Regions from separate parts of the Homo sapiens genome. Here region 2 is linked to region 1. The links are contacts of gene promoters, found by promoter capture Hi-C in blood cells and fetal thymus (Javierre and others, 2016). All regions are on one chromosome and are shown on one strand. The core of a region is centred on a gene start or on the middle of the fragment in contact, and the rest is flanking DNA. Distances in the headings are between cores, read along the strand shown.

Region 1 (2,931 bases), core at 321-2,820:
ACCAGAATAAGTCTCTCTTTTCTCTGTTCTTTTTTTTTTCTTTTGCTTACTTTTTTTTAAAAATACAGTAGAAGCCGGTAACTTTTAACGTATAATACTGACCTTTTAATAAGTAAATTAAAACTGGGACCGTATATACACACACATATACATTCCTACACAGTTAAACAGTGCATTACAGGAACCAGAAAGCTAGGTCTCTGTAGCCCAGAAAAAAAAAAAAAAAAAAAAAAAAAAGTTCATTGAAAACCCTCGCTAGAGGGTGGTGGAACTGGTTGGAGGCGGTGCAGGGGGCGTCGGTGGGGATCGATCAAGTGTCCGGGTGCGGGCAGGGGGCCCCCGAGTTCTAGCACGAGCACTTGCACTCGGAAATGATGGGGTACTGGATGGGAATCCAGCCGCAGCGCTGGCCCCCGCGCCGCTGACAGCGCCACCGCAGCACCGTGAGGTGCACGGACTTGGACGGCTTGCACACCATGCCCTCGGGCACGGAGCACGAGCGCTTACTGAAGCAGCTGCCCACCTTCACGTAGCGCGGCCAAAAGCGGCTGCCCAGGTCGTTCCACGCGTACAGCACGGGGCAGAATGTCTGCGACCACAGCCACATCTGTAACTTCCTCCGCAGCTTCTTGCTTAGGCGCTGCTTCTTGCCCTGGGCCAAGCCCTCGGAGAACTCTAGCCCTTTGATCTCGCTCGGCATGGCCCCCGACGGCCGCTGCCGCAGCAGCTGGTCCAGCTCCGCCAGGTCCTCCGCGCCCCCAGCTGCACCCCCGCCCCCGCCGGGCCGGTCCTCGGGGGGCGAGGTGGCCATGAAGCCTGGGTCGTAGTGGCCCCCGAGCAGCGAGCGCAGCAGCGTCTCGTTCAGATCCTTTTCCTTGGGGTCAAAGATAGGGTCTGGGTGTTCGATGAGGTCCACCAGGGGCAGGTTGTCGCTGGGTGCCGGGCGGATGTGGAGATAGTGCTGGCCGCCGGCCGGTGTCGCCCGCAGCCCCAGGACCACCACCAGGGCGTAGAGGGTGACCCCTAGGCTGGGGCAGCGCTCCATGCCTCTGGCGCGCGCCCGGGGCTGCTGCTTCGTCCCGCGTCCCCGGAGGAGAGCACGCCGAGCCCGCGGCGCCGCCGCGCTCCCCCGTCTCTCCGGAGGCGGCTCACCCGAGGCTGGGCAGGCGCAGGGCCGGCAGCATGAGCCGCCGGGAGAGCCCTTCGCGCAGCGCCGGCTCCCACCGGGGCGGAAGAAAGGCACACAAGTTGGCCGCAACTCCTCTCCCGGGTCTACTGGGGAAGGCGGCCGCGGCTGGGCATCCGAAATTACTCCAGGGCGACCGCGGGGCGCGGGAGGCGCCGGCTCCTCGCTGCCTTCCCGGGCCGGCGGCGGCGCAGGGCGCGTGGACGAGCCGCTCTCCCCTCCTCCTCTCGCTGCTCTTCGTCCGGCCGCTCTGTGCAAGCGCCGCTGGCTGAGCTGGTTCTAGGGGCACTTCCCTCCGCCTGCTCCGGGCTCCGCGGCCGGCTCTGCCCGGCGGACTCCAGCGGCGGCGGCGGCGGCGGCGTCCGCGCACGTTGGCACCGGTTTGTCTGTCTCGCAGGGTCCAAGCCTTTAAATTTCCTGCACTTTCAGCTCCATCACCATGGAAACCACTGACTCTCTCGGCGTTGCCCCCTCCCCCTTCTTCCCCCCAAACAACAACCCCACCCCCCACTTCTCCACCCCCGAGGAGCTGGAGCTGCACAGGCTCCGGGGGAAGCCGCCTGTACTCGCCGCGGAGGCGGCGGCGGCGGCTTCGGCAGCGCCCAGGGCTGTGCCCCGCCGGACCCAGATGCCCCGGGAAGCCGACAGTCCGGCTGCCCGCCGGAGCTCACAGGCGGCGGCGGCGGCGGCGGCAGCGGCGGTGGCGGCGGCGGTGGCGCTTGGCAGGTCTCCGCGCAATTTTCTCTCTCCCCCACCACCCACCCCCCTTCTCCTCCTCCTGCAAAATGCACCGCCCCCCTCCTTTCTCCTGGAGCAATGCAACTGGGGCTCTAGGCGCCCCGCCAGGGCCAGTCCTGGGGAAAGCTCGCGGCGGCGCTGGAGCCGGGCTGGAGGGTGCAGAGCCGGTGTTTGGGGAGGGGGGGCGGTGCTTGAGGTGGGGCTGGAGGGTTTCTCACTAGCTGGGTGCTTTGCACTGGGAGGGGAGCAGCGGGGAAGTGCTGGGGGCTCGTTTCTCGGTGCATGCAGTTCGGAGCAAGAAATTTCTCCATGTGCATGGAGCGTTTTCCCCGAGCGCGTCTTCTTCTCTCCCGGGCTCTTGCTCTAAGTCCCCTCCCCCCAACACACATATATACACACACACACACACACACACACACAGCCCCTACCCCACCCCCCTTTGCACCAGGGAGTCCGAGAGCCGCAGCGTTGCGCAGCGTGATGTAATTCTTAGGAAGCACTCCTGTCTGTCTGCCCCTCGGGCCCACGAGGGGGTTCCGCTCCTCACCATCCTCCTCCTCCTTGGCCGGGTCCTGCACCCTGAGTGGCCTAGCCTCAGGGGCGCGACTGGCTCGCCTGCGGCTCCCCTAGCCCGCCCGGCTCCGCGCGGCCGCCGCTCGGCTCCCTGGGGGCGGCGCGCCCTCTGCTGGCCCGCTATGAGCCCTGCACCTGGCGCTGGCGGGGGCGGCCGTGCGAGGTGGGTCGGCCGCTGCCCGCTCTGCCCAGTTCAGCTTCTGCTTCTGTGTCCCTGTCACTTTGTGTGTGTCTGCGTCTGCTGACTGGTCCGTTTTGGTTCTGGCTATTTTCCCGAAGGTCTCCAGGCCCCCAGTGTAAACAAACTTCCTGAGATTCCTTCTCGGTCCCCTCAAATTTCACAAGAATGCGTGCAGCACCTTCTGCCTCAGGTAAATCGGTCTCTGGTCTCAGTGGGTGCGAGTGGGGACCAGAAACTTGAAAGGTGAGCTGAC
Region 2 (3,037 bases), core at 264-2,763, 46 kb before region 1:
ATCCATCCATCCATCCATCTACTCATCCATCCACATGTCCATCCATCTACATGTACACCTATGCATCCACCAGCTATCAGTCCATCTGTTCCCCCATCCATAATATTTATTGAGCACCTATAGTATATCAGGCATTGCACGGGCTGCCTTGGTTGCCTTAGACTCCGGGGGAATAAGTCAGCTATGGTCTCTGTCCTCATGAAGCTTACAATCAATTAAAAGCAAAATGAATGTTTTTCCTTTCTTCTGTCCCCCCTTTCCTTCCTCCCATCTGCCCTCCATCCTGTTTCCTCCCCCTCTCTCCTTTCCTTTTTCACCTCTGGTTTTGGGAAAGAATTGATCCCACACCAAGGTTGGGGGAAAAGCCAAAGTTGTGGGAGGCCTAGCTTCGCATAGAGAGAGATTTGCTGTGGTGGAGAGTGCAGTGGCCAGTAGCCGGAGTAAGACCTCGTGATGAAAATTAAGTCCTTGTTTGAACCACTGCGAGAAGCCAGCAGGGGTCCCTAAGATCTAGCTCCAGGCCTCTCTATGTATTGCCTCTCTGGGATTGGCCTGACCCATGGGTGGGGCAGGTAAATGCCTTATCTCTTCTGTCCCCAGCACCCCTCCTCATCTACTCTTTGATGCCTAAAGGGCCAACAAGTGAAGTGTATTTCTTGAGCTTAAAGCTTTGATCTCTGTGAAAATGAAAATCCCTGTGGGAGGGTCACAGTTTAAACTGGTACTGATTATTCACACTTGGTTGTGAATGAATATCACTTTTTGTTCCCCAATGGAATTAAATCAACAGGTATTTACAAGCCTGCTTGAGATCAGATTAGGTAGGCAATGGCATATTTGGAGAGAGCCCTAGATGGGGACACAGGTATGTTGGGGATGGTCCCTGCCAGACCACCTATGAGCTCCTAAGCCTTGTGCAGTCCCTCTGGGCTTCTGGGACTGGATGATCTGCAAGGTGGCTCCTAGGCTCTGAAGTGGATATGGAGGGAGTCACCGAGGGCCTGCTTCACGGGCATCCTCCTGAGCAGCTACACAGGGCTCTGTGCTTGGTTAATGTTCTCCTGTCACCATCCTGAATAGAATAGTTTTTGAACATGAGGCCCCACATTTTCATTTGGCATTATGCCAGGAAATGATGTAGCCAGTCTTGGTGGCAGCGGTGGTGGTGGTGACTCGGGAAAGGGGTCTCAAAGACAAATACTGCTCACTTTAGCCGCTTGCCCTCAGTGGCTGCTGCTCCCCATCCTCCACAGTCCAGCCTAGGACTCACCTCCTTGGGAAAGCCATTTCCAGATAAACTCACCTGCCGGGAATGCTCAATTCCTCCCTGGCAAGTAGATAGATAACAGGCTTGGCTTGGTGAATCTTTTGCTTGTTTGTGATGCTCAGGGGAAATATTGGGTGGTTTTAAGTGCGTGCCCCCATTTCCCTGCTAGCGGCTCTTGGGGTGCTCCCCACCTTCTCTGGATGCCCTGCTGCACGGTAGAAAAAAATTCTTTGGAATCACATAGTCCTGGGTTTGAGTTCAGACTTCACTTTTTACAAGCTGTGTGATGAAGGGAAGATGGCACCCCCTTGGAAGCTGCCACCTGCCCTCCTGGATTACTGTGAGGATGGAGAGATGTGTATGTATAGCACTCAGCACATAGTAGGCGCTAAATAAATAAAGGGGTCTTAAACTCTCAGAGTCTCACTTACTTGCCTATAAAGTGGAGAAATCACTCCTACCTCTAGGCCGAAGGCTCAAGGCCATTTAAAATCATTATCAACTAAAAATACCCAGATCCTAGTGCAGTCTCCCCCTGCCCCCACCCCACCCTCTGGCAGGCAGAGAGCTGCGCCCAGCGGGAGTCCCGACAGCAGAGCGCTGCATCTCTAGGGTGATCGTGCCTTGCGAGTTTCTAGAGGCTGTTGAGCCCTTTGAGGTTTGAGTTACATTTTCACTTGGCAGAGTCTAGTTCTCTGATTCAAAGAGAAAAGCTGTCAGAGAGAGGGATAGGAAGAGAAGGGGGGTGTGTGTAAAAAAATAAAAAAGGCTCCCACAGCTTCTCGGACTTGGAATGGCTCTGTGGAGACCAGGCGGGATGCATGCAAATCAGAAACACATGCATGAGGCTTTCCTCCCAGCACATGCGGGCTCCGGAATGAAGGCGCCAAGCCCTTGACATGCTGGCTCAAGACTGGCCAGGCTTGGGCTGGATTGGGATGTGGAGTTGGAGCCTGCACCTGTGTCCTCTTGTCCTGTCCTGGTGAAAGGGGAGAAGATGGGAGCAGTGGCTGGTTCTATGCTCGACTCTTGGACTCTGAAAGGTCCTGAGGCCTTGAGACCTCCTAGATCAAGAGGCCAGGGAAAGCTTTGGGGGTAATATCTGGCAGCACAGGGCAGTGGAAAGAGCATGGGCTTTTAAGTCAGAAAAACATGAGTTAGCATCTTGGCCATGTCCCTTATTAGCTGTGTGACTTTGGGTAAGTTACTTAAGCTCTCTGTGCCAGAATCTTCTCAGCCAAAACTTGAGGACAATGATCACTGTCCCAACAGGCTTTGTGAGAATAAAACCAAAGTTTGCATTTTGTTTATTTATTTAATGGAAGATTGATTTGATCCCTTATACTTCTTTTCTTTCCAGACAGGAGACAAGACAGCTCTTTTAAAAAATGTAGTGTATTAAAGAAACCATGGCAAAAAGAAAAGAAGGGCTGAACAGAAATATGAAGCGAAGGCAGGGTTAGTACACAGGCATGCACAACTTGGAATCTTGCACAATTATTAAAGTTGTTTAGTAAATTTGTTTCTGAGCTTTTAGTTGGCCAGAATAAAGCAGAAGACATCATTGAGAAGATTCATGTTGTCTATTAAAAAAATGGCTTTGGCTGGGTGCAGTGGCTCATGCCTGTAATCCCAGCACTTTGGGAGGCTGAGGTGGGTGGATCATCTGAGGTCAGGAGCTCAAGACCAGCCTGGCCAACATGGTGAAACCCCATCTCTACTAAATATACAAAAATTAGCTGGGCATGGTGGTGCACGCCTGCAGTTTCA

The links. Contacts are between HindIII fragments. The CHiCAGO score rates a contact against its expected background, and 5 or more counts as called.
Region 2: a fragment that was not itself captured here is called in contact with the fragment with the promoter of NOG in region 1 in 3 of 17 cell types (naive CD4 T cells, non-activated CD4 T cells and naive CD8 T cells); the score reaches 8.1 in naive CD4 T cells.

Annotation. Positions count from the first base shown.
Region 1 is chr17:56,592,338-56,595,268 of GRCh38, reverse strand. It overlaps NOG (noggin), which reads right to left and starts at 1,570. Exons shown (of 1, transcript NM_005450.6): 1 at 1-1,570. The coding sequence starts at 1,045. The coding sequence ends at 347. RefSeq lists a silencer at 2,508-2,717. The HindIII fragment of the contact is 13,259 bases long and covers 1-2,931 here.
Region 2 is chr17:56,637,803-56,640,839 of GRCh38, reverse strand. No RefSeq gene overlaps it. Among named protein-coding and RNA genes, the nearest start is that of NOG, 46 kb to the right of the region's middle. RefSeq lists enhancers at 1,662-2,162, 2,163-2,663. The HindIII fragment of the contact is 1,686 bases long and covers 671-2,356 here.